Regions from separate parts of the Homo sapiens genome. Here regions 1, 2, 3, 4, 5 and 7 are each linked to region 6. The links are contacts of gene promoters, found by promoter capture Hi-C in blood cells and fetal thymus (Javierre and others, 2016). All regions are on one chromosome and are shown on one strand. The core of a region is centred on a gene start or on the middle of the fragment in contact, and the rest is flanking DNA. Distances in the headings are between cores, read along the strand shown.

Region 1 (4,060 bases), core at 1,135-3,634, 410 kb before region 6:
TTTAGAGACGGGCTTTCACCTCGGGTGATCCGCCCGCCTCAGCCTCCCAAAGTGATGGGGTTATAGGTGTGAGCAACTGCACCCAGCCTTTATTTTGTTTTTAATTACAGCTTTTAGTTCCAGAAACTCACTTTTTGTTTTTGTTGTTTGTTTGTTTGTTTTGAGAGGGAGTCTCACTCTCATGCTCAGACTGGAGTGCAGTGGCGCAATCTCAGCTCACCACAACCTCCACCTTCCGGGTTCAAGCAATTCTTCTGTCTCAGCCTCCCGAGTAGCTGGGACTACAGGCACGCGCCATCATGCCTGGCTAATTTTTGTGTTTTTAGTAGAGGCGGGGTTTCACCATGTTGGCCAGGCTGGTCTTGAACTCCTGACCTTGTGATCTGCCCACCTTGGCCTCCCAAAGTGCTGGGATTACAGGCATGAGCCACCGCGCCTGGCCCACTTTTTGTTTTAATTAAATGCAAATGTAAAGGTGTTTTCTCAGTGTGAACAGACTTTAACACCGGGACGTGTGTGTGCTGCTGTGCAACTAGACATGAGAGTTTCCGATGTGGGAAGCAAAAATGGGTGGCGGAGACAAGAGGAACTTTCAAAGTGTGAATTGTGTGTACTTGTTTCCAAATGCGGTTCACAGGAACAGTTTGGTGGCATCCTCTGCGCCTACCGTGGGAGGATGTTTAACTCAGACTCTGGCTTCTCTCTCCAGCTCCTGCTTCACATTTGCCATGACTTGACCCTGGCAGTGCTGAGCCAACAGATGGCCTCCTGGGACGAGGCTGTGCAGGCGCTCCTTCGGGCGGTGGTCCGGAGCTATGACTCAGGGAGCTTCACCATCATGCAGGAAGTGTACTCAGCCTTTCTCCCTGACGGTAAGTGACTTCCTGCTGCCTGAGGCACACCCTTTAATGGACAACATCACCACCATTAGTGGTGTGGCACTGGGAGTACCTAGATTCTTAAAAGATGGAGATTGGCCAGCTGTGTCATTTTAGTAGAAAGTTTGGATTCTCTTACCGAAGCTTTTAAGAACAACTATACTGTTTCCTTTACCTGGCCCTACCCTCTTACAGCCTCCTGTCCACTTTCCACAAAGTTTAAGGGAGAGAGAAATAGGAATGTAGTTACATGTTAGTAAGAACAGAAAAGAACAGCAAAAAAGATAGACATTCCTTGGGCTGCATAGTCAGTCACTGAACTAAATCATTGTGATTTTTCAGAGAGACAGTGTGATCTGTTGTCGTGGCCCCAGAGCCTTCAGTAGTACAAATGGAATACTCTATCATGCTTTGAATGACTCCTAGGATGTAGTAATGAGAACACTGTCGCAAGCCAGGAAATGTTTAGCCTCCAGTTGGCTCTTGGTGGAAAGGCATGTGGCCCGGTGGATCACACTGTTGTCCTTTTTCCTGGGGTCTGCTTCTTGGTTGATAAGAAATAGAACATAAGGGCAGGAAGCCACATTTCTGGCAACTAGAGAAATGCATGACCCAGTATCTTTTTCCTCTTTTCCTAGGCTGTGACCACCTAAGAGACAAGTTGGGGGACCATCAATCCCCTGCCACACCAGCTTTCAAAAGTTTGGAGGCCTTTTTTCTTTATGGGCGTCTGTATGAATTCTGGTGGTCTCTCTCCAGACCTTGCCCAAATTCCAGTGTCTGGGTAAGGGCTGGTCACAGAACACTCTCTGTTGAGCCAAGCCAGCAGTTAGACACTGCCAGCACTGAAGAAACGGACCCTGAAACTTCTCAGCCAGAGCCAAACAGGCCTTCAGAACTAGACTTGAGACTCACAGAAGAAGGTGAGCGAATGCTGAGTACTTTTAAGGAGCTCTTTTCAGAAAAGCATGCCAGTCTCCAAAACTCACAGAGAACTGTTGCTGAAGTCCAAGAGACCTTGGCAGAAATGATCCGACAACACCAAAAGAGTCAACTCTGTAAATCCACAGCAAATGGTCCTGATAAGAATGAACCGGAAGTAGAAGCAGAGCAGCCCCTCTGCAGTTCTCAGAGCCAGTGGTAAGTACTGAGGCAAGTACAAGACGGAATGAAAAATGACCCTGCTGGCTAGGAACAGTGGTTCATGCCTATAATCCCAGCACTTTGGGAGGCTGAAGCAGGAGGATCACTTGGCCCAGGAGTTCACCACCAGCCCGGGCAAAAAAGCGAGACCCTGTCTCTACAAAAAAAAAAAAAAAAAAAAAGCCCGGGCACAGTGGATCACGCTTGTAATCCCAGCACTTTGGGAGGCCGAGGTGGGCAGATCACTTGAAGTAAGGAGTTTGAGACCAGCCTGGCCAACATGGTGAAACCCCGTCTCTACTAAAAATTAGCTGGGTATGGTGGCACATGCCTGTAATTCCAGCTACTTGGGGGGCTGAGGCCAGAGAATCGTTTGAACCTGGGCAGCAGAGGTTGCAGTGAGTCAAAATCGCACCAGTGCACTCCAGCCTGGGCAACAGAGGGAGACTTCATCTCAAAAAATACAAATAAAGTAACCAGGTGTGGTGGCATGTACCCTGTAGCTACTTAGGAGGCTGAGGCAGGAGGATCACTTGAGGCCAGGAGCTCAAGTTCAGCCTGGGCTACATATTGAGACCCTGTCTCTAGAAAAATTAATTTTTTTAAATTAGCCAGTAGTGGTGGCATGCACTTGTAGTCCCAGCTACTCAGGAGGCTGAGGTGGGAGGATCACTTAAGCCCAGGAGTTCGAGGCTGTAGTGAGATACGATCATGCCACTCATACCAGCCTGGTTGACAGACCCTGTCTCTACAAAAAAAAAAAAAAAAAATTAAATTTTAAGAAGCCAGGTGACAAAGGAATTTTATTTATAAAATGAGATAAAAGTAACCCAGGCAGGGGCATATGCTCTCAGGGCCTCCTGAGGGCTGTGTCATAGGCAAAAGTTTAAATTTTTAAAAAATATTAAAAATAAAAGGTAAAAGCTACCCAGGCATAACAAAAGATAATCCAATTCAAGGATGGGCAAAGGACTTGAATAGACATTTCTCTAAAAAGCCAGTAAGCACAGGAAATGATGCTCAACATCTCATCATTGGGGAAATGCAAATCAAAACTACAGTGAAGCAGCACTTCATAGCCATTAGGCTACTATCAGAGAAACAGAACAAGTGTTGAGGAGGATGCAGAGACATTGGAACCCTTGTGCCTATTGGTGGGAATGTAAAATGATGCAGCCACTGTGGAAAACAGTACAGCAGCACTTCCTCCAGAAATGTAAAATAGAATGACCATAGGATCCAGCACTTCCACATCTGGGTATACACCCAAAAGAATTGAAAGCAGGGTCTGAAATATGTGCACACCTGTGTTCATGGCAGCATTATTCATAATACCCAAAACACGGGAGCAACCTAAGTATCCACTGACAGATGAATGGATAAGCAAAATGTGCCATATCCATACAATGGAATGTCATTCAGCCTTACGAAGGGAGGACATCATGCTGAGTGAAATAAGCCAGTCACAAAAAGACATATACTATATGACTCCACTTATATGAACTACTCAAAATAGTTAAATTTATAGAGACAGAAAGTAGAATAATGTTGACAGGGGCTAAGGGAAGCAGAATGAGAAGTTAATGTTTAATGGGTATAAGATTTCAGTTTTACAAAATGACAAGAGTTTTTGGAAATGGGTGGTGGGGATGTTTTTCACCACATTATGAATTTATTTAAAATCACTGAACTATGTATTTTTAAATGGCTAAGATGGTAAGCTTTATGTTATATACATTTTACCACAGTAAAATAACAATGGGAGAAAAATGTTACCCAGGGCAAGACATACAATTTACACCTTTTATTTTTTTCACTAGTAAAGAAGAAAAAAATGAGCCACTTTCTCTGCCTGAGTTAACCAAAAGGCTTACCGAGGCAAATCAGAGAATGGCGAAATTTCCTGAGAGCATTAAGGTAAGAGTTAAAGCAGTTCATTTGGTAAAGCATCACTTTTTGTGTTATCACTTGACTATACCACATTCTTATAAAGGTCAGCTACCTCTCTGTTCAGTTTCTAAAATCTCTACCCATTCATA
Region 2 (3,722 bases), core at 936-3,435, 350 kb after region 6:
TTCCTCTACCTTCTCCCCTTGTCACTATGTCCTGTCTGCCTGTTGAGCTCTGAGTTTTCCTTCTGGGAGGATGAAGAGATCTCTGTAAGTATGCCCAGCTGAGCCTGGGTCTCCAGCCACAGGTGCCCTGACCTCCCCCACGCTCTGGTGTGTTTCCTTTTGGACAATTCCAGGTGGGGTGAAGGCAGCTCAGCAGCTTCAGGGTGTGTGGGGGACCGGTAAGCTGCTTCAAAAGTGCTGTCTCCACTTCCTGCCTCTTAAATTCAAAGCCAGCCTCTGAAGGAGTGAAGGGTCTTTGCTTCGGGCACCTGAACCATGTTGTAGCAGGATTAATCATCCTCTCGGAAAGGTACTCTCTGGGCCTCCAGTGGTGTCCTTGGAAGATACGTGTCTGGAGTTGGTTCAGCTGCCTTTCACATCCCTGTGCTGGGGTGTGTGTGTGTGTGTGTGCGCGCGCGCGTGTGTGTGTGTGTGTGTTAGCAAGGCTCGGGTAGGGACACAAGGAGATTGGTCTTTATTTTTTTCCTTCCTTCCTTTCTGTCCTCCTTCTCCTCTTTTTCTTCCTAACAAAAGTCTTTTGTAGAAATGACGTATACTCATATATACTCTTTTTCCTAACCATAGGCTTTTGTAGAAATGATATATACTCACTGAAAAAAATTTCACTCAGAAATTTTAAACAAAGTAAGAAAAAAGCAAAAACAAAACGCAACAGAAAACATCGCTTCCCAGAAAAATTACTGACAACTCGGTATCTTCCCAGATGTCTCTTTATATATAGATAAACTGATACAGAAATGAGTATTTAATTTTACATAGTTGGGCTCATAAAATATCTGTGCAGTTGTGCAATATGCTGTTTCTGCTCAAAATGCACGTTGGCAGTTTATTCAGATCTGCACAGTGGCTGTGGTTGCAGAATCTTTCAGGGATGTGGCATAGATTTATTTATCAGGTCCCCTGTTGTGAAGATGCACACACTTGCTCTCTCAGTCCCCAGAGCTTCTCTAAACTCAGAACACATCACCTCCCATGCATGGACATTGGCACAGCTTCCTAACTGGCCTTCTGGCCTCCAGGCCTCCCTGAAAATCCGTGTTCCACACTGTGGCCAGAGCTAGCTGTTAACCATGCCCATCAGGTCATGCCACTCCTCTGCCTAAAACCCTAGAATCTATTCCCATCGCTCTTAAAACAAAACCCAAACCCTTAACCATAGCCTAACATGACTAACAGTTTCATGATCTGGGCCTCCCTACCTGGCTTCCTCTGACCTTTTCTCCTGCCAGTCCAAGATCATCCATTCCCGCCTCAGAACCTCTGTGCTCACAGCTCTGCTGGCAGCCTTTCCCCTGGACCTTTGCTAACTGGCTTTTTTGCCACTCAGGTCTCAGCGCTCAGGGCTCCTTCCTCACTCAATCAATGCTGATCCTCTTCTCCTTGCCAGTCGTTGTGCCATTACTCTGTTTTAAAATTTTCTTTAAAACGGTTATTTCTATGTGAAATTATCTTATTGATTTGTTTCCATGTTTATTGGAAACAAAAAGTTTGTTTAACTTTGATTACTATTGATAATTTATTTTTCCTGGTTATAGTCTCCTTTTTTGTTAGATCGCATGTTTAATAACTTTTAATCATAAGATACATATCGTGGATGTTACGTTGTTCAGATTCTGGAATTTGATGTCTTCCTTTAACGAGTTTGAGTTTTTTGGGGGTCGGGGTGGGGAACAGGCAGTTAATTTGCTAGCATATCAAAAGCCTCATCCTTTAAAGTCTTGTGTGTGTGTTTTTTTAAGCGTTGTAAAGATGTGTCTAAATTAGTTCTTTCTCTGGAACTAGAATAGCCCTATACTCTAAGCTGTGGCTTTTCTAGAATCTCAGTTGAATGAATGCTTAGGGTGTTAGCAGATCTCTCCATTCTGGACAATCAGAACTCATATGTCACCCAGAACTGTGACTTTGGAATCTGCATTCAGCTTTCAGTTCCTTTGTAGCTGTTCTCTGCCAGCCTTTGCAGAATCTAGTCCTGTGCATTTATTTTTTACATTTGGCTAAAGACCTAAGGGGACCCCCATCTACCAATGCAGATTTCAGAGCTCTTTCTATGCGCAAGTCCTTCGTGTCTGGTACCCAGACCTGCAATTCCAACTGGCTTAGCAGCCTTGAACTCTAATCTGTGCCTGCTCATCTCTGCAGAACTTCTATGCTCTGCTTGAAGTTCACCTCTCTGCGTTGTGTGGTCTGGAGCGGTGCCTTCTAGTAGAAAGCCAGGGCAACTATTTTAAATGTTGCACAACTGCAACATTTAAAAATAGTTACTTTAATATTTCTTAATTGGGGAAGGGCTGGTCCAAACCCAGTTATTATAGCACGGTTTGAAGCAGAAGTTGTATTTTTTATTTTTAGGAATTGCTTTTTATAATTTAAGTTTGTAATTGTATTAAATATTTACACGATTCCAAGTCAAATCTACCAAACAAGATTATCCACAGAAATCTAGCTTGTAATTCTGTACCTTCTACTCTATTCTCTTTATCTCTTTATATTTAGCGACTTAAAATAATGGTGATGGTTTATTTTTTATTCTTTCTTTTTAATATAAGCAGGTGTGTGTGTCTGTGTATGTTTCATATTCACCCTTTACTTACACAGTAGTACACTCTAAATACTTTCCTCTAGCTTGCATTTTTTAAATGTAACTATGTATTCTGATGATCACTCCACACTAGTATAAAGAGATAGTGCTCATTCCTCCTTTACAGTTTTACAGTCCTCAATTGTAAGAATGTCTAACTTGTCCTGTTTTGCTCAGGATTTCCCGGTTTTAGCATTGAAAGTTCTGGACAAACCAAGCAGGTTGGTTACCCAGTATGAGTATATTATAGTTTGTTCGATTAGTCTTTCTTGGATAGAGATTTAGATTGTTTCCAATCTTTTAATACCACAAATAGTTCTTCAGCGAATAGCCTTGTGCATACATCTCTTCATATTTTACCAGTGTATTTTTTTGTTGTATTTTTTAAAAATAGGATTGCTGGTTCAAAGGTAAATGCGTATGTAATTTTTCCAGATATTGTCAAATTCTTCTCCATAGGGATTGCATAATTTTGCATTTATACCAGCAGATCTCGAGAGACTGTTTCTTCAGAGATTTACCAGCAGAGAATTTGTCCAACTTTTATCTTTTTCCAATTGAATAAGTGTGAAGTTATACCCCCAGATATAGTTTTAAAATGTACACTTTTCTTATTATGAGCAAGTTTGAGTATATTTCATAAGGTTAAGAGCCACTTGCACTTCTTTCTTTGTGGACTGTTGGTACAATTCTGCAGCCTATTTTTATATAGGCTTATTGAACTTTTTCCTCTCCAATTTTAGAAGCTCTTTATATATTAGATATATGAATTCTTTCGCTGTGACATAAGCTGTAAATATTATCCCCAGTTGGTCATTTATCTTTACCCTTTGCTTGTAACATCTTTTGCTATACAAAAATTTTTTGAATGAAATCAATTTATATTTTCTCTTACTGCTTATAGATTTTGAATACAGTTAGTAATGATTTCTCCATTCCCAGGCTATAGAGGAAGCCAACTATGCTTTCTTCCAGTACTTGTATGGTTTCATATTCTTACACTTACATTTCTGATCCATTTGGGATTTATCTTGGTGAATGACATGAGGAATGAATCCAATTTTAGCTTTTTTTATATGACTAT
Region 3 (4,228 bases), core at 1,508-4,007, 390 kb before region 6:
TCACCACCTCCCAGCCTTCCTAAAGCCCTGAAAATATACCAAACTAGAAAAAAAAACTAATAGTATAGAAAGGCTCGGCCAGGCACAGTGGCTCACGCCTGTAATCCCAGCACTTTGGGGCGCCAAGGCAGGTGGATTACGAGGTCAGGAGTTCAAGACCAGCCTGGCCAAGATGGTGAAACCCTGTCTCTACTAAAAATACAAAAAATTAGCCAGGCGTGGTGGCAGGCACCTGTAATCCCAGCTACTTGGGAGGCTGAGGCAGAGAATTGTTTGAACCCGAGAGGCAGAGGTTGCAGTGAACTGAGATCACACCACTGCACCCCAGCCTGGGTGACAATGCAAGACTCCGTCTCGAAAGAAAAAGAAAAAGAGACAGGGTTTCACTCACTGCAACCTCCGCCTCCCAGGCTCAAGTGATTCCCTTGCCTCAGCCTCCCGAGTAGCTGGGATTACAGGTGCATGTCATCACACCTGACTAATTTTTGTACTTTTAATAGAGGCAGGTTTCACCATGTTGGCCAGGCTGGTCTCGAACTCCTGACCTCAAGTGATCCACTTGCCTCGGCCTCCCAAAGTGCTGGGATTACAGGTGTGAGCCACCGCACCCGGCCTAAACCTTTCCTTTTAATGCAGTCTTTTCATGCTCCTTTCTCTATAGGAGAAAGGCTCTCCTATCTGAACATACTTTCCATGTATTCTTTTACTGCCAGTATCTCTGTGCTGCTGCTGTTTAACACAACTGCTCCCTTCTCTTTAACAGGCAGAGCAATGGGCTGGGCTTGGGCTGTGGATTCAGCCGGACTCACTTGACCTTGGCAAAGTCATTTAAACTCCTTTTAAGCCATAGTTCCCTATCTATAAAACAGGATAATAGGGTTATTATGAGGAATGAGATAACGAACAGTAAGCACTTAACGCAAGATCTCTCCACTGTGGCACTACTGGGGTAGGATAATTATTTGGGGGAACTTGTCCAGTGTATCACAGGATGTTTAGCAGCATCCTGACAGGTAGCACACCACTCTCCCCCACCAGATTGTGACAACCAAAATCATCTACAGATATTAACAAATGTACCCTCCAGGGCAAAATCATCCCCAGTTGAGAATCACTGACCTAGAACATTTACCAACACATGGTAACAGTTGTTTATAATTAAGAGTAACAAAGAGGAAATGTACTCTCCCTCTCTACAATCTTAGTTCTAAAAAGGAGATCCATGTCTACAGATCAATTAATCTGATCCGGTCCTCAAAAGTGTCAACAAAATCAATATTTCAATTTTTCAAAGCAGCGTCTTACTCCTTCTACATCTTTGAATATATTTTAAAACCTGAGTCAGTGAGTAAAGAAACTAAAAGAAGAAATTAAGAGTCTAATTTTTACTAAGGGGTTATAGTAAATTCAATATAGTATTTATTTAATAATAATTAACAGAACTTACCATAATGTCAGTAGGTGGCCTAACAAATATATTTCTATTACAGGAATCAGAAAAAAAGCAAATAACTGAAAGGATTAGAGCTGACAAGAACATGAAGTTCTGGACTTGGGTGTGCTCAAGAATACTTGGTTACTGGAAAGTGGCTTTCACGTCAGAATGCTGCTTTTGCCTCTCAAACATGTGACATGCAGAATACCATAACAAAAAACAACCACTTTCAAAGTGGACATCAACTTGCTAAAAAAACAGTCTATGTGGCTGGGCGTGGTGGCTCACGCCTGTAATCCCAGCACTTTGGGAGACCAAGCCAGGCGGATCACCTGAGGTCAGGAGTTCGAGACCAGCCTGGCCAGCATAGTGAAACCCCGTGTCTACTAAAAATACAAAAAATTCGGCCAGGCAGAGTGGCTCATGCCTGTAATCCCAGCACTTTGGGAGACCAAGGCAGGCAGATCACCTGAGGTCAAGAGTTTGAAACCAGCCTGGCCAACATGGCGAAACCCTGTCTCTACTAAAAATACAAAAATTAGTAGGGCATGGTGGCGGGCACCTATAATCCCAGCTACTCAGGAGGCTGAGGCAGAAGAAAAGCTTGAACCCGGGAGGCGGAGGTTGCAGTGAGCTGAGATCGCACCACTGCACTCCAGCCTGGGTGACAGAGCAAGGCTTCATCTCAAAAAAAATAAATAATAAATAAATAAAAAATAAATGTTCAACAAACCTCAGCCCACATAACAGACCATCCACTACCTCCTTAGCCTTCAGCAAGTTACTGCCGAGAGGCCTGTGATCACATTCAAGGAAGCTTACCTCTTTCATCCTAAAGAAAGCCATTCCTGTCAGCAGTGAGTCTGAGCCTGCCTGGTGCTGCCTTCCAATCCTCTGCAAATCCAACTGATCAGCAACTTCCTGAAGACCTCCCTGGAGATGTATGGAGAACAAAGATAATATTACAAACCCAACATGCCCCTACTGGAGCCAACTAAGTGCAGTTATGAGTTCACTGAATTCTAGCAAGAAGTGGGGACAGGCCATTTATTTAACAGGCCTTAGTAACCTCTTTTTAGCTCTTTTATTCCCTTTTTCCAGACGCTATATTGTGCTACATCCTACATTTTGCTCCTTTCCATGTTGTTAATTTTTCCAGAACTCTGCCATTAAAATCAGAATTGCAAGGCTGAGGAAATAGTAAATCCCACTCTAATTCTAGACAGCAAAGCTCTATGTCAACAATTTATTACGGTACCAAGTTCTAAAACTTTCTAGAGTTAAGAACTCCTCTAAGAATCTGTTATACCACAGACCCCATCCCTAACAAACAGCATTTATACCTTTTCATTAGGTTCATGGCCCTCGAGTGAAGAATGCCTGCCTTAAGATGACAGAAGCAGAGGGTTCCCTTCATGGCCAGGTTAAAGATCGTTACCACACAAATATCTGACCAAATCAGCTTTATATTATACCCTGTCTACCACCACACTAGCATCTAGTACTCAAAAATGCATGCTGAACACGTAACAATAAAGCAAAGTCAGCTTTTTTTCTGTCCTTCTTTTTGTTACTGGTATTAAGAAAAACATCATATACCTTAAGATTTTTGCAGCTCTTCATCAGGTATTTCACATCATAAATGGATGGGAAGAAAAGGTTCAGAATATGAAAGAATTCATGTTCCTCTTCTGGCAAACGAGAATCTGTAAGCAACTTTACCATATAGCCAAAATCATAGCCACTACAAGAGAATAAACCACAGAGGTTAAAAAAGCAGTGGTTATCAGGCCCCAGTGTTCAACCATTTTATTTCTCAAAGCTTGTAAATGCTACTTCATGTTAGGAACTTTCACTTTTTCTGAGTAGTTTATCGTACTATAATCTGAATCTTTTTTTTTTTTTTTTTTTTTTGAGACAGAGTCTTACTCTGTTGCCCAGGCTGGAGTGCAATGGCACGATCTCGGCTCACTGCAACCTTCACCTCCCAGGTTCAAGCAATTATCCCTGCCTCAGCCTCCCAAGTAGCTGGGATTACAGGCACCCGTCACCATGCCTGGCTAATTTTTGTATTTTTAGTAAAGACAGGGTTTTGCCATGGTGGCCAGGCTGGTCTCGAACTCCTGACCTCAGGTGATCCACCTTTCTCAGCCTCCCAAAGTGCTGGGATTATAGATGTGAGCCACTGCGCCCGGCCTATAATCTGAACTTTCTAATAACAACCTAACAGACTAATATGGGAGATATAAAAAAGTACCCAAGGGGTTTAATTGTAGATTCGATTCACCAAAAATCCAAAAGTACTGAGAAGTTAAAATAAGGAGAATCTGGCTTTCAAGTACCTAAGAAACTCCGAGACAGCCATTTAAAAGATAACCAAGTACTGTGACCCTCTACACCCACCATATTCCCACTTGGAATTAAACCCACTGATAGCCACATGATAGAGCCAAATACTGTGTGAAACAAACCAGTATATGAGCCCCAGTGTTTTGTGAAAAACTGAAACATGGGCAACAAGCACCAATTCAACTTCTGGCTGCTGCTGCTGAACAGAACAGTCACTAGGACTGCAAAAATGACTAAGAATTCAATTCCCTGCTTCAGTGTAGCCCAAAGTGAGAGAGAAATACACATTCCCTAGGACTGACCTATGAAATGAAAGCCATTTGACATTGTCACAGAGAACCACTCCTGATGTCATAAGCAGCTCTGCAAAGTGCAGTGTGTCAATCCCTTCCTCTTCATGCTTCTGAAACTGTAGTCCTGAGTTAGCAAGGAGATCTATGGAAT
Region 4 (3,735 bases), core at 957-3,456, 330 kb after region 6:
CACATTTATTCTTGTATTATCCTTATTTTATGTATTATCCTTATTTTATCCTTATTTTATGGGTGAGAACATGGGTGAATTAGAGAGTTTTAAGTTAGATGTCAGCCATACAGCGACATGTAAGTATCCTTTCTCTGTGTTTTGTGGGACTTTAATAAAGCAAGATTTTTAGGCTTAAGGCCCAGTTTCTTCATCTATAAAACAAGAATGGCAATCCAATCCATTCTCATTGGATTATCCTTAGAATCAAGTTAATTTTTGTGCATAAGAGCCTAGCACATTGCACATGGTAAATGGCCATAAAACTGTAACAGTTAATTTTGTCATTGCTGTTATTATTGTTATAAATAGTTCATGTTCCCATTGGAGACCTTCTTTCTGCAGCCCGGCTATTGGGAGAAAAGACCAAAAGTCATCTGGATCCAGAGCCTTTAGTAGTGAATTTTAGCAGTGGTGGGAGTGATGATCAGCCAGAGACATAATCAGAGGCAGGTGAGGAATTGAGGACTAGGAAGAGAGAGAAACCAAAGAGCAGAATGCCGGTGACAAAGGAGGCCCAGACTGCTCTGTCTTCCTAGTGTCAGCTGCAAATGCTCTCTAAGAAAGTCCTCTCACCCTTTCCCCAGGGACCTCCAATGTGCTTTCAGCAGGTTCCATGAGGTAGCCAGCTAGTTCTCAAGACCTGATTACATTCAATTTACTTGAATTTTTATCAGAGTGCCAGTCAGCAGTGTTCTAGATAAGCTGCCCCAAATCAAACAGAGGCCAGTAAGGTCCTGCCTTAAGCTCTTGTCTTACTCGCTATCAGTGACTCCCAGGGGACCTTGGAAAATCCAATAATCTCACAGAGCTGTTCCTGAGCCTATAGAGTCCTGGCCCTGTCAAAGCACAGTGAAAACTAGCCAAAGCAGCCTGAGATCAGCCATAGCTTTAGCAGGAAAAGTAGATGTATTCTCTGCTTTTTATTCTTGAAAGTTTCTGTTGCTGTTCAGAGGATAAAAGCAGCAGTAAATGCTTAGGCAGAGCTGCGCCTTATGGCAATTTGCTCTGAGCAGTTGTCCTGAGCAGGCCCAAAAGCCAAGACAGTGTAGCCAAGGGTCCAAGTGCGGTTTGTAACTGAGGGCTGTGTCATCCCAAGCCTGGCCCATGGGGTCAATGGCATCCTCTGCATCTTTGGAATGATTATGGGTCTGTACAGCAGGGATTGCTCCCTTGCCTGGAGTACAGCACTGCATTTGTCAGGTAAAGGAAATGGTTTATCAATAACAATAACAATTTACACTCAGCAAACTGTTATTTAACCACACGTCGATTTCATTAAGGCTGGATGACAATAATCATCATAATAACAGTGTGTGCTTTCCACTTGCCTTCCTAATAGTGAAAGGTTTTAGAGCCCAGTCCTCACTTAGTGGGCTGACATTGAATTTTGAGACATAAGCTTGTGACCAGGAGGAAGAAAGGAAAAAGTGTTGGGCAAATGTTGGATTCAAAGAACTTATTGTTGTTACTCTGATCAATTAATTGATTCATTTATTTGCCAAATATCTTTGAATACCTACCATGTGCCATGTACAGTAGGCCTCTGTCCCTCTGTATCCACAGGTTTTGCATCCACGAATTCAACCAGTCGCTGATCAAAACTATTTAAAAAATAATACAAGAATAAAAAAGAATTCAAATACCAAAATACAGTATAACTATTTACATAGCATCTACATTGTATTAGATATTATGTGTAATGTAGAGATGATTTAAAGTATTTGGGAGGATATGCATAAGTTATAAGTAAATACCTTTCTTTCTTTCCTTCCTTCCTTCCTTCTTTCTCTTTCTTTCTTTCTTTCTTTCTTTCTTTCTTTCTTTCTTTCTTTCTTTCTTTCTTTCCTGTCCTTTCCCTTCCTTCCCTCCTTCCTTCCTTCCTTTCTTTCTTTCTTTCTTTCTTTCTTTCTTTCTTTCTTCCTTTCTTTCTTTCTTTCTTTCTTTCTTTCTTTCTTTCTTTCTTTCTTTCTTTCTCTCTCTCTCTCTCTCTCTCTCTCTCTCTTTCTTTCTTTTTCTTTCTTTCTCTCTGTTGGTTTTTTTTTTCAAACGGAGTCTCACTCTGTCACCCAGGCTGGAGTGCAGTGGAGCGATCTCGGCTCACTGCAACCTCTGTCTCCTGGGTTCAAGCAATTCCCCTGCCTCAGCCTCCCGAGTAGCTGGGATTACAGGTGCTCACCACCATGCCTGGCTAATTTTTGAATTTTTAGTAGAGATGGGGTTTCATTTTGTTGGCCAGGCTGGTCTCGAACTCCTGACCTCAGGTGATCCACTCAACTTGGCCTCCCAAAGTGCTGGGATTATAGGCGTGAGCCACTGCATCCAGCTTTTCTTCCTTCCTTCCTTCCTTCCTTCCTTCCTTCCTTCCTTCCTTCCTTCCTTCCTTTCTTCCTCCTTCCTTCCTCCTTTCCTTTCCTTTCCTTTTTTTCTTTTTTTTGAGACAGGATCTTACTCTGTCACCTAAGCTGGAATACAGTGGTGCCATCAAATGGCTCACTGCCATCTCGTACTCCTGGGCTCAGGCAATCCTCCCACCTCAGCCTCCCAAGTAGCTGGGATTGTAGGTGTGCACCACCATGCCCAGCTAATGTTATTATAATTATTTATTATAATTATTATTGTATGTAAAGTCAGGGTCTCCCTATGTTGCCCAGGCTGGTCTTGAACTCTTGGGCTCAAGTGATCCTCCTGCCTTGGCCTCCCAAAGTGCTGGGATTACAGGCATGAGCCACTGTGCTTGCTGACTATGCGTAAGGGACTTGCACATCTGTAGATTTTGGTATTTGCGGGGGTCCTGGAAACAATCCCCTGCAGATACCAAGGGATAGCTGTACTGTGCCAGATGGCAAGGATACAGTAGTTGAATGAAGTAGGCTCAGTGTATGTGTTATCTATTGCCACATAACAATAAAACCACAAACTTAGAAGCTTAAAATAACATACATTTATGATCTCAGTTTCTTTAGATCAGGAGTCTGGGTACAGATTAACTGGGATCTCTCCAAGGCTACAATCAAAGTGTCAGCTAAGGATGGGTTCTTATCAAAAGATTTGACTGCGGAGGATCTAACTCCAAGTTCATGTAGTTGTTAGCAGGGTTTGGGTTTTGCAGGCTATGAGGCTAAGAGCCTCAGAGCCTCAATTTCTAGCTAGTTGTGGCTGGAGGCCACTCTCAGTTTCTTGACATGTGGTCCTCCCCAACATAGCCACTTGCTTCATCAAAGCTAGCAAGGGAAGGAGCCTAGCAAGACAGACATTGCAATCTTACATAATATCATCATAGAACTGGCCTCCCATCACCTTTGCCATATTGCATAGATTAGAAGCAAGTCACAGTCCCCTGCCACACTCTAGGGATGGGAAGATTACATATGGATGTGAGTACTAGGTCTACTATACCAGTCTCTACTGTCACTCAGTTTACAGGGAAGATAGCCATAAAATATAATTACTATGAAGTGTGATTCCGGCTATAAGAAGGGAAGAACTTAGGTAATGTCTCCCTCACTCAGTGTAATGAGGGATATTTAAGCAAGAACTTTGAGGAACTGCTCAAATAAATTGTGGGGTAAGTGTACATGGGAGTTGGGGGTAAGTGGGAAGTAGTGGGAGTGTATGATGCACAGAGGGTTCCAGGAAGAGGAGTTCTCAACTCATAAAATGTTAGAGCAATGGCCAGGCACAGTGGCTCACGCC
Region 5 (3,915 bases), core at 1,342-3,841, 380 kb after region 6:
GTTGATCTGGAGAAGGTATCAGGTTGTAATCTCAATTACCTAGCATAATTTTCTGGTCTTCTCCTTTGGAACCCACTGGGAACATAAAATATTATCTCTGTTAGTAGCATAGCATGGTCCCAGAGCAGAAGCCTGATAAAGCCAAATGTGCACTAGTGATACACATGTGACTGTGGGAAGAATGCAGCTGCTTGTCAGCAGGGTGGCTACAATGGACATTGGTTTTTGTTGTCTGCTTGTCTCCTTTCCTCCTTCTTTTGAAGCTGCAAGTCGAATTTCATGCAGAAATAACCCTGCTCCATCTCTCAACCAGTGCGATATTGGAGTGCTAGGCTTTCCCCCAGCTCCAGCTATGGGTCCTTGAATCAGGCATGGCCAGTCAGTGCTTGTCCCACCTCACTGACTCCAGGCCAATGGGTGTGAGTCCTGGGACTTTTGCTGGAACCATTGAGACAAAGAAGCTCTCTTTTCACTGGGGTTGCTAGGCTAGAAGAATGAAGCCAAGAGTTTGTGGTTCCCATCTTGCAACCAAGAGCAAGAGCCTATGTTGGTGTGTGTGTATATACAGGGCCAGGGAGAGAGGGGAGGAAGTAGTGGAGATGGCAACACAGGAAAGCCAAGGCAAGCGATGGACTGCCAGGACATGTTTTAGTTCCTCTATCCAGCCATACCTGAAGACCAACTTACCCCTAGACTTTTGAGTTACTTGAGCTAACGTATTCTCTTTTTTATTTAAGCCAGTCAAAATTGGGTTCTGTCATGGAAAGAATCCTAAACAACTTCTCTGAGCCTCAGTTTTGTCTTCTGCTAAATGGAATTTAATAACACCACTCCTACACATATAAGATGTTGAACACAATGCTGGCACATAGTAGTAACTGTCCTTCTTCCTCTGAGCTCTGGGAGTGAAGGTGACTATGCCCCCTTTTTTACATGCAGCAGCTCAACCTTTGTTGGCCAGATGACTAAAAATTGCTCAGAAGGCTGACAGAAGGGCCAGCAACCTTCTTTCCCTGATGCAAATAGCATCATTTCTTCTGGGTAGACGGAAGAGCTCAGCAGAATGTGTATTTGTCCCTGAGCTCTGGTTTTTGATTGCCACCTGGATGTGCCCAACAGGTAGCCTGCTGTGTTCTACATGCCACAGCCAGATGATAAACCTTTGATTTTTGCTCTTCTCTGATTCTTGGGAATAATGGGGTCCATAATGAATTACATCCCCAAGAATAGCTGTAATTGTAACAATGCCAGAGAAACGGAGCTGGCAAATCAGCCAGTCCTGTGAAATGCACCTACTTGGTTCCAATCACTCTCTTTGGAATGAATACCATCCTTATTTGTTTTTTTGTATCCCAAATTTCTAATAAGCAGTGGGCTTTCTGTGGGAAGTGGAGAATAAAAACCAGACATACGGGAGGTTTTATTCTCAGTTTGAGTGCTTTATTCCCTTGTATGTGCAATTTCCCTAGGAATTTGGTCACAGGGAAAGAAGATTTCTGCAACCCTTCTTGCTGCCACCAACCCTATATCATGTCAAGGAACTGACACCTGCCTTACCTGGAGATGCAGAATCATTTGTATGCTGTCCAAGGTGCTGATAAGTGGTACTCTTATGGAAATCGCCAGGGGAGCAGCTTGGCTCAGCTCAAAGGCTGTACTGTCCACAGTCAGGGAGAGGTATGGCTAGGGTTCCAGGCTGCAGGGTTGGTAGGAAGGGGAAGCTCCTGGGCACTCTGAGTCTTTTCTTGTCAGCATGTCTTCTTGGAAGGCCATATTCATCTTGGCTCTCTCTCAGACCCTGGAATCTACACAGAACAAAATAATGAGCAGTCCAGGGTCAGGACGGTAAATATGATTTCTAATACTCAACTGGAATGGTAGGTAAACATAAGCAAATTTAGTACCAATTATATTTAGTAGTTGCCACTATTGCTCGTGTATTATGTGTCAGGCACTGTATGATAAGTATGCTGTATCATTTTCTCATGTAATCCTTATGACAAACCAGTAAGTAGGTACAATTATTGTCCCTATATTTTAGTCAAAAAAAACTCCTGGAACTTAAAAAGAAAAAATAGTTTGACCGAGGGCAATAGATTGGTTTTGCACTCAGGTCTGCCAGACACCACGAGAACCTGACCTTTTAACCATCATGTTCTGCCTGGTAAACGTGCTCAAGGAGGGGTTCTAGAATACATGGGAAGGTCAGCCCCTGGCTCATCTGGCAATTAAAGGCAAGGCACTTTCTCATGGAGCTTTGAATTCTCCAGCTGTAAAATTAATGGGTTAGCTCTAAGCCCTTGAATTAACCAGGTAGCCCTGTTTTAGTGGTGAGCTCCCTGTCCCTGGATGTAAGCTTGAAGCATAGCTAGGGAACCACATGGCAACAACATGACAGAAGGGGTTCAATCACAGGACAGCAAGATGGGTCCACACGACCTTTACTGTTCTTTCTTCTATGAGAGTCTTATGCCAATTTGTCTTAAAAATTGAAATTTTCAAATTTTCAAATTGAAAAGGCCAATGCTTGTGCTCCCTAGGACCTGATCTTGCCAATTTTGAGGCTGCTCTATTTGTCTGCTGCAATTTGCTATGGTGACTCAGCAGGAGGCAGGGAGGAGGCACGACAGCCAGCGCTCAGCCTTCCTCCTGAAGATGTTGCTTGGCTAAGGGAGGGGACACTGGGTGGGAGGTCCCCAAGATAATTGCTCTGAATATATTTGTTGCTGATGTTCCCTTTGTCTTCAGCAGGCGCCAGATTTCCCCACTCTAGCCGAGTTCTCACTTGGTTGAACATTCGAACAAACGCCCATTAGGGAAGCTTGTCACTTTCTCATTTGAGGGAAATGTCTGACGCAGAAGGGCAGGTACCACTTAAAATGTCAAGGCAGCAGTGTAGCTAGCAGGTAAATTTCTGTGTAAAACTCCACTTTCTGCTTTGGAGAAAGGAAATGATGTTAGGATTCTTGTATGGCAGTCAGCCACGAAGACTATCTTGAGCTGGAGAGGAAGGGGTAAATGATCTCAGTAATCCAGACAGTTCTTTCATCAGTTTAAGATTCCAGTGCTTACTCCCCCAAACCCCAACATTTCTGGTCTTCATTCAAGGCACCCTGTTCTCCTTCCAAGGCTCCTCTTCATATTCCCCATTAATCAACACTTCTTCCATCATTACCTCCCCTATCTCTACAGCAATGTCCACATTCCTCTCAGAATAATGTCCTAACTTATCTTCCTGACCCTAACTTCTCTGAGTGACAGTCTATTCTACAGGCAGTCCTCAACATCAGCTTCCCAGCATAGAAAATTTCAATGGTTTCTTGAGTGTTTACAGAAAACAAAAGACACCTCCCCAACAACCCCCAAGCCTAACACTTATGAGTGCTTGCTGCATGATGCCAGGTGCTTCATGCATTAACTTGTTTTTCACAACAGCACTATGAGTTGGGTACTAATAAGTACATATTACAGCTGAGTAACATGAGGCTGAGATATTAAATAACCTGCTTAAGAGCTCCCTACTTGTAAGCTCCTAACCCAGATTTAAACCAAAGTGGTCTGCATTTTTCTCCCACTTTCTTTTATTATTACTATTCATAGACTATTTTTTAGAGATTTTTACGTTTACAGAAAAACTGAGCAGAAATTATAGTTCCTATATACTCTCTTATCCCCACCTCAGTTTCCCCTAACATCTTGCCTTAGTGTGGTTTATTTATTATAAATAATGAATCTACACTGACACATCATAGTCACCCAGTCCATAGTTTACAGCAGGATTCACTCTTGGTGTTGCACGTTCTGTGGGTTTTGGCAAATGTGTAATGACATGTATCTACCTTATACTATTATACAGAAAAGTTTCACAGCCCTAAAAATGCCCTGTCTCCCACCTATTCATCCCCTCCTTCCTCT
Region 6 (3,997 bases), core at 261-2,760:
GGTGAATGATTTGCCTTCTAAAAAGAGCACTCACATTAACTTCTCCTTTCCCCCTCCCCTCGACTTTGCTTTGAAGAGAGGCACACTCCCTCTACCACACCGAGGGAGGGGGCGTTGAGCTGAGAAAGGTTGAGAGAATGAGGGACCCAGGTAGGTGGACATCGGCCAAGAAAGGAACCACAGCGGGAGGTAAGACCGAGAGTCCCCAGCTTGAAGCGTCACCACTCCGGGATTCCCAGATTCCAACGCGAGCCTGGGGAAAGCCCACAGTGGAGAGAGTCCGGCTGGCAGGGAATGGCCCTACCCCCGGGGTGAAATCTCGGAGGGTCGTGCAGCCGAGTCGCGCCTCTGCGCTGATGCGTGAGAGATGCCGGACGTCGCGTTTGCCTGTGCGAGCCTCGCGGATGCTGTGCAGTCTTGGTCCCCTCTGCGTGTGTCTAACGCCGAATGCTGGTGTCTCGAGGTGTGAGCTTCGGGGCCGGTGTCTTTAAAGAACCAAAGATTCTTAAGGAGTGATGATCTGGGTAGAGCGGCCCGACGTAGCCGCGCTCCCAGGTCTCGGTGCGAGTCCTGCGGACAGACCAGAGGAGACCTGCTGGCCAGATGCCCCGGGCCCAAGGCGGACGCCAGACTGTCTCTGCGCCAGCCGGGCTGGCCTTCGGAATGGATCAGGCACCCGGGAGGCCGGAGTGGATCTCAGACCCTCAAGCCGGGAACAAACCCGTCGATGCCCGTGGGCCTGGAGTCCGCCTCCTCCTTCCCGCCCCACCCCTACCCCTGCCTCCGAAAGGCTTCTTCGCTGGTCAGTAGCTGCGTGCCCGTCTGCCTGAGGCTGGGTCAGAATTGGCGGGCTGGTAACGACCCCGTGCACAAGCGGCTCCCAGTCTCTCCAGAAAGGGCCGATGACTAAGGGGTGGGGGTGGGGGCGGAGGGCTGGAAGGTGTTAGGGAAGAACGTTAGCGGCCTATCCTGTCTTCAGCAGCGCCCTCTCATCTTCTAGCTCTGACGCCGAGCAGAGCAGTTGGAGCTCGGGACTGGGAACTGCTGGAATTCCTATTTAGACTTCTAGACAGTCTAGAAACAAGAACCTTTCTTTCCCTGGGCCTCAGTTTCCTTGTCTGTAAAATCAAAAGGCGGGCTCTAGGTGTAGGCCTTCTTTTCGCTTGGTGATTCTGGATTCCTTTCCTTGGATCCGTGGGGAGGGGGTGGCAGCAACAGTCCAGGGCGTTGGCCGTCCTGTGCCTCAAGTACGTAGTCCCCGTGCCCGCCCCCTCAACACCCCCAGCAGCCCGCCCCCCTAAGCCCGCAGAGCAGGGAGCTGAGTGGGAGGGGCAGAGGCGGGGCCGGTTCCCAGTCCCTGCTGGCGGACTAGAGTGGCGCGGGCTGAGCGTAAAACCTGGGATAGCCACTCCCCCTTTTCCTTATCCCCGCCCCCCTGCCATTGGCTCCCGGGAGAGGTTGACATCAAAGCCGCGGTCTTATATAAGCCAGATCCGCAGGGGAGTCCGCAGAAGGGTTAAACAGGTCTTTGGGCTTCGGCGACCTCGCCCGCGGCAGAAACCGGTAAGAAGACAGTGGGCTGCGCGTCTCATTTTCAGCCTTGCCCGGACTCTCCCAAAGCCGGCGCCCAGTAGTGGCTCCAGAGCCCACAGGTGGCCCCCGGCAGTCTCTGGGGCGCATGGAGCGGCGTTAATAGGGCTGGCGGCGCAGGCCAGTAGCCGCTCCAACATGAACCTCGTGGGCAGCTACGCACACCATCACCACCATCACCACCCGCACCCTGCGCACCCCATGCTCCACGAACCCTTCCTCTTCGGTCCGGCCTCGCGCTGTCATCAGGAAAGGCCCTACTTCCAGAGCTGGCTGCTGAGCCCGGCTGACGCTGCCCCGGACTTCCCTGCGGGCGGGCCGCCGCCCGCGGCCGCTGCAGCCGCCACCGCCTATGGTCCTGACGCCAGGCCTGGGCAGAGCCCCGGGCGGCTGGAGGCGCTTGGCGGCCGTCTTGGCCGGCGGAAAGGCTCAGGACCCAAGAAGGAGCGGAGACGCACTGAGAGCATTAACAGCGCATTCGCGGAGTTGCGCGAGTGCATCCCCAACGTGCCGGCCGACACCAAGCTCTCCAAGATCAAGACTCTGCGCCTAGCCACCAGCTACATCGCCTACCTGATGGACGTGCTGGCCAAGGATGCACAGTCTGGCGATCCCGAGGCCTTCAAGGCTGAACTCAAGAAGGCGGATGGCGGCCGTGAGAGCAAGCGGAAAAGGGAGCTGGTGAGTCCTGGGGCTTGCATGCTCCAGCCAAGGGTGCAGGAGCGGTGAGCAGCCTCAGGCCATGCAGGTAGTCGAAGGAGGCTGTGTTGTCCTGTGTCCGATTTGGAAAGGTTGGGAAGAGTTCTGAGATGGTTGGTCACAGCGTGCGATCCTGTGCATGGAGGGAGGCAGATTCGTCATAGAATTCATTTGTAATACGGGAGAGTGTTTGTAATACTGAGTGAATAATCTGTTTGGAGCCTCGGACCCTCCAAAAATGCACACACCACAGGTTTTGCTTCCAATTTGGAGAAGTCCTGATTCATTCCTGGGCTCTCCTGGAAGCCAGGTTAAGAATATGTGTTAAAGTTCTTTACTTTGAGTTTGAATTTATGTGCCCGGGCTCGGTTCCTGTTTTCAAAGGGCCTTTGCTGGACCGGCTAGTCTACTTCCATCATTGTATAAATAGGGAAACTGAGGGCCCAGAGTGGGTCGGGGCAGGAAAAGCACCTATCTGAGGAGTCCAGGGTGGAGGTGAGGTAAAACAGATCGGGTCTTCTACTCAGTCCAGGGCCAGTTCTGGTTCTCCCCATGGACTGGTTCTGAGGACGACTTCAGTGGCTTTGCATGTAAATAAGAGCCACTTCTTTTAGCTTTGGAGAGCGCAGTCTCGTCTTGGCCTTCTTGATCCTCTCCGGTTAGGGTGACACTTCCTGGCACTCGGTCTGGCTGTCCGGGGCTGGGGGCTTCTGAGCGCTGGGTTTTCAGGCTGGCCAATCAGTTTCTCTAGGTTGGGGGGCTTAAGGCCGTAGCGGAGTGGAGCCAGCTGAAGCGCCCCACCTGGTTTATCCAACCTGCGGGGGCCTGTGGTAAACTGACGAAAGCTCATCCAGGGACGAGGGAAAGATAAATAGGCATCGAGTCTCTAAACGGCTGCCCCGGACTGGGGATGGTGCAGGCCGGCTTCTTTCGAGGTGCGGCGCCTCGAAAGAAGTTGTTATTGGGCGGATCCCGGCCCCCACGCGTCGCCGCCTCCTTCAAGTAGCACCGCTTGGTTCCTGCTGAAAGAGCGGGAAGGAGGACGCTAGGCCAGCTCGACTCCCCGCTCTTTTACCTCCGTATCTGAGGCTCCCAGCTCCGGCTTAGGGGGCCCCAAGCCTGCATCCAAGCCCTGATGTTTAAACCAGGTTGGGAGGCTGGCGGAAGTGTGTGGGGTGCAGCGAGAGCGGGAGAACCGTGGATTTCCACCCCTCCCTTCCAATATCCTGGGATCTCCCTTAGGTGTCCTAAAGCCAAATCAACGCGCGTCAGTTTCACCAGACGCAGAACATTTTCCTTACCAAACCTCCCGAAGCTGCCCAGCCCATCCCGGGTCCCAGGAACTCCGCGCATAAAGGCAAATTTACGAGCCTGTTTGCCTATTTCGCAAACAGAAATCCGTCACTTATTTAAAGACTCCCAGTTACTGCTCCCGACACCTTCCCCTCCTCCTCATCTTACCCCATGCCGGGCGATCGGAGCAGAAAAATTAAAACCTGTCTCTCCCGCCTCTTTTCTTCTGTGTGTCCTTTGGCAGCAGCAGCACGAAGGTTTTCCTCCTGCCCTGGGCCCAGTCGAGAAGAGGATTAAAGGACGCACCGGCTGGCCGCAGCAAGTCTGGGCGCTGGAGTTAAACCAGTGAGCCGAGGCCCGCGCCGAGGACCTGGCCAGGCCAGCCACTCCTGAAGCCCCGGGAGGAGAGGAAGGC
Region 7 (3,725 bases), core at 703-3,202, 430 kb after region 6:
GAACATAAAAAACAATGAATCACTGTATTTTGCCATTAAATATCTCAAAGTCTAAATTACAATACGGTGCAAATGTCATTTAATTTTCATTAATTAACCCTTGAAAGGATGGTTGAATGGTGACAAATACTTTTCTAAATCTTTACAATTTAAGGATGGGGTATACAGAGTAAAATAAAAAACCTTCAGACTTTGGCAATACATGACACACTAAACGTGTTTATTTCCATTTCCTCCTAAAACCGCACAAAAAGGACACTAAAGGAAACAAAGACTTAGGCAGAGAGGGGATTTTGGAAGTAATATAATCTAATTGATTCAGTGCACAGTGATTTGCTTCTTACGACATGCTACAAGTTAGTAGGAGAATCTAGTTTGGAATACAGTCTCTTTTTTAAGAGGGGGTGATGGGTAGAAACAATGGAAATAACATTTATTGAATGACTGCCATCAGCCAAGCACTGTGCTAGGGGCTTGACATGTAAGTTTCCAAGCTCTTTTTCACTGCAAGATATACAGCAATTGGAGGACATAATTTTGTACTTTATTCTAGATTAGTGGTTCTCAACGGTGACAGGCTATGAGTGTGCTGAAAAAATGCTCCAGGCTTTCTCCAGAACTTTGATTAGGAGTTCCTATAGCTTCATCCAGGGCAGCACTTCCCAAACTTCATTCATTCCTTCTCCTGTCTTTTTTGTTGTTGTTGTTTTTACTATATCCATGAACCAAATTATCGTCATTTCTGCTTTTCTTTTAAATCAACTCATTTTATTTTTACTTTCACATTTATTTAAAAAGGAAACTCTACATCAGTTCTGTGGACAAATGTAACCGTACACATAAACATAATGAAAACAAAGAAGTGTTATTAGCTTCCAGAGATACTACTGCCTGCTGAAAGGCTTTGAGCTGGAGGCTTGCTCTCTCTGTAGTAAAACCAAAACCAAAACAAAAAGCCCCCCACAACTCCAGTTTATTTTAATGCCACCTCATTTCTTAACCTGCCATCTCCTTCCTTTCTACTCTTCCCCACCACTGAGTTTGAGATCGGAGGGATACATTTTCATATACTGAACAGTATCTATTGAGCACCTACCATGTGCCTACCTACTGCCCCATAGACATTGTCTCGGCCTCCACGAAGTTCAGTCTGGCAGATGATGGACACTAACTACATATATACAAAATAAACTCAATGTTACCCAAGGGAAAATACAGATGCTACAGGAGGACCCAACATGGGGAGTTAATCTCATCATGGAAAGCCTCTGAGAAAAAGAGGTGTGCAGCACCTATTCTTCAGGTGCAGGACCTGAAGAATAAAGAGGAATAAAAATTGGGAGGAAAGCACTCAAGGTAGAGGGCCAGGAGACAGGGAAAAATGAGAGGGGTCACTGGTCAGGAGTTGTTCACAAAAAACAGCTAAAAAATTGTGGTAAAGACAGGCAGTGGCCAAAAATGCTGCGTCTGATTCCTGATTCTGGAGGAGAACTAACTGGGCCAATGGTGAAACTGGAGATAGACTCCGGAAGCTGCAGTGGCTGAAGTGAGTGAGGGAGATATTCGTCCATGATGAAGACGTCAAACAACTGAGAGGCTCAAACGTGGGCAGATCACCTGGGGGTATGGTCACATCCCCCCAGGATCAAAGTAGCTAGTGTAGAAGAAACTGGAAAGAAAGGAAATGGATTCGGTCTTCCTGCTCTGAGATTCAGGAACTTCAGCAGAATGAACAGCTGTCACAGGCGAGGGCTGCAGGGCAATGAGTGTCCTCACCAACACAAGGCTTGGCAAAGCATAACTCCCACATGGAATTCTGCCTTCCCGCAAACTTCCTGAACCTCCTATCAAGGCCTTAGCTATTCCTCCTACATAAATTCAGAGTATAGCTGTATAAAGGATGGCTTCTCCTTCACCCCAGAGCCCTCCCCACCTACCGTACTCATCTGGCGCTGGTATATGCTGCTCTGTACTGCTAGGCAGTCTATCCCATCTCAACTACCCCTTAAGAACAAGGCCTATATTTTTTATTGCTGTACGTCATAACTAGCACATGCTCAATAAATATTGATGGAGATTAGTTTAAATTTGATTCAGTATGTGACAGATCTTTATAAATTGAATAATGTTATGCAACAGGGATTATAATTGTTCAAACTGACATACAGTTGCCTATTATAAATTCTCTGAAACAAAAACAGTCAATGCTAACAATCTTGGAAGACCTTAAAAGTACCTAATTAAATGCATTCTTCCGACTCCCAACCTGATACCTTCATTTACCATGTTGTCCTAGAGGATAATGGTAGGAATAAAAGATCACCAAGTGCAGTTTCCAAACCAGGTTGAATATCACAACTGTCAGGAGAGCTTTTTAAAAATATGGATTCCCAGGTCCCAACCCAGAACGAGTAAGAAACTCTGTGTTTGCGCCTTGGAATTTATGACTTTTAATTGGCTCCCTGGGTGTTTCTGAGGCATTGGATTCATGTACTGCATCTAAGGGCCACTAATACAGTTCCTCAATTTCCTCTGCAACTGACCTGCAGAATGGTGCTTCAGGCTATTTGAATATTTCCAATGAGAGATATAATCACTCACATTCCATTCTAGATTTAGATTACTCTAGATCAGCAAAATTGAAGGTCTCTAATAAGAGCAGGGTAGCAGAGAGGTTCAGAGTATAGGATTCAAATACGATCTGTGACTCTAACCAGCCTTGCAACTTTTATAAATGACTTAATCTCCCTGCCTCAGCCCCTCATCTTTAAAATGGGCAAAATAACAGAATCTATTCTCACAGGATTATTGCAAAGTCTGAATGAGGTAGTATACATAAAACACAGAGTCTGGCAATGGTAATCACTGAATAAGCTCTATTATTATTGTTCATGGTTCTTTCAGATATTGAACTAAAATTTACATTTGATAGTTACATCATTATAAAACACTCAGAATACCATGCAACCATTTAAAAATCTTGGGGGTTGGGGGGAAGGGGACACCATTATGCAGTTTTAATCTTAAATTTAAAATTTCACATTTTTCTTTTTCTCATTGCAAATATTTTGCAATATTATGGAGCATATAGGCATTGTAAACTGAGCTTGGATCCCAACCATGATATGACATTGTATGTGTCCTCAGTTTGTGGTAGAGAAGATTTGTCGTGATCTACTTACCCAACGGCTCCCCTCTTTGAGCCCTATCCCTATCTTCTTGGGTCTAGGAGGAAGACAACCTATTGGCAAAGTAAGCTAATAGAATCTTTGTTCTTGGAACTTGGAATTGAGACCCTTGTGGGTCAGGGTCATTTGAGGAAAAGGAGGCATGTGGGGGCTGAGGCAGTCAGGTTTGGGCCACATACAAGGAGAAGCTGTAAGAAAGGACAAGAGGGATGGGGAAGGGAGAGAGTGGGAAGACAGGAAGAGGAGCAGGAGAAAGACAAAGAGAGACTCATACATGGTGCTTTGGTGCCTGATAGAATTCTACTTCCTGGCACTCCTGTGACCCTTTTTTTTTTTTAAAAAAAGAAACAACTTTATTAAATTTTACTCAAAATTAAAACCACAAAAGTGAAGATGAATGTGCAAACACGTAATAAATGCGGAAATGGTTAGGCAGGAGAAAAAAGATTAAGTTCACAAAAAGTTATTGAACTGTGTCTGTGGCTGCCAGGCAATCTTCATCATAGATCTCTAGTCTCTTCCTTACACAGTGGAGTG

What was found. The method cuts DNA at HindIII sites, captures the fragments that hold promoters and counts their contacts. A CHiCAGO score of 5 or more calls a contact.
Region 1: a fragment that was not itself captured here is called in contact with the fragment with the promoter of HAND1 in region 6 in 2 of 17 cell types (activated CD4 T cells and monocytes); the score reaches 5.6 in activated CD4 T cells.
Region 2: a contact is called between a fragment that was not itself captured here and the fragment with the promoter of HAND1 in region 6, in 1 of 17 cell types (neutrophils). The highest score is 5.4, in neutrophils.
Region 3: a contact is called between a fragment that was not itself captured here and the fragment with the promoter of HAND1 in region 6, in 2 of 17 cell types (naive B cells and total B cells). The highest score is 6.0, in naive B cells.
Region 4: a contact is called between a fragment that was not itself captured here and the fragment with the promoter of HAND1 in region 6, in 1 of 17 cell types (neutrophils). The highest score is 5.2, in neutrophils.
Region 5: a contact is called between a fragment that was not itself captured here and the fragment with the promoter of HAND1 in region 6, in 3 of 17 cell types (neutrophils, total B cells and naive B cells). The highest score is 6.6, in neutrophils.
Region 7: a contact is called between a fragment that was not itself captured here and the fragment with the promoter of HAND1 in region 6, in 7 of 17 cell types (naive B cells, total B cells, M2 macrophages and 4 more). The highest score is 9.5, in naive B cells.

What each region holds. Positions count from the first base shown.
Region 1 is chr5:154,889,199-154,893,258 of GRCh38, reverse strand. GEMIN5 (gem nuclear organelle associated protein 5) reads left to right here. Exons shown (of 28, transcript NM_015465.5): 25 at 710-872; 26 at 1,517-2,018; 27 at 3,842-3,938. Among named protein-coding and RNA genes, the nearest start is that of CNOT8, 33 kb to the right of the region's middle. The HindIII fragment of the contact is 2,720 bases long and covers 1,025-3,744 here.
Region 2 is chr5:154,130,496-154,134,217 of GRCh38, reverse strand. No RefSeq gene overlaps it. Among named protein-coding and RNA genes, the nearest start is that of GALNT10, 58 kb to the left of the region's middle. The HindIII fragment of the contact is 5,584 bases long and covers 1-3,722 here.
Region 3 is chr5:154,870,681-154,874,908 of GRCh38, reverse strand. It overlaps CNOT8 (CCR4-NOT transcription complex subunit 8), which reads right to left. Exons shown (of 7, transcript NM_001301073.2): 4 at 4,087-4,228; 5 at 3,035-3,179; 6 at 2,258-2,368. Among named protein-coding and RNA genes, the nearest start is that of CNOT8, 14 kb to the right of the region's middle. The HindIII fragment of the contact is 1,005 bases long and covers 2,255-3,259 here.
Region 4 is chr5:154,147,774-154,151,508 of GRCh38, reverse strand. No RefSeq gene overlaps it. Among named protein-coding and RNA genes, the nearest start is that of GALNT10, 41 kb to the left of the region's middle. The HindIII fragment of the contact is 1,526 bases long and covers 1,444-2,969 here.
Region 5 is chr5:154,094,914-154,098,828 of GRCh38, reverse strand. No RefSeq gene overlaps it. Among named protein-coding and RNA genes, the nearest start is that of MFAP3, 58 kb to the right of the region's middle. The HindIII fragment of the contact is 465 bases long and covers 2,359-2,823 here.
Region 6 is chr5:154,475,740-154,479,736 of GRCh38, reverse strand. HAND1 (heart and neural crest derivatives expressed 1) reads left to right here and starts at 1,510. Exons shown (of 2, transcript NM_004821.3): 1 at 1,510-2,271; 2 at 3,827-3,997. The coding sequence starts at 1,729. The coding sequence ends at 3,931. RefSeq lists enhancers at 1-62, 2,836-3,690 and a silencer at 3,845-3,997. The HindIII fragment of the contact is 6,833 bases long and covers 1-3,997 here.
Region 7 is chr5:154,044,738-154,048,462 of GRCh38, reverse strand. The region is part of intron 1 of MFAP3 (microfibril associated protein 3); the gene reads right to left. Among named protein-coding and RNA genes, the nearest start is that of MFAP3, 7.6 kb to the right of the region's middle. The HindIII fragment of the contact is 6,700 bases long and covers 1-3,725 here.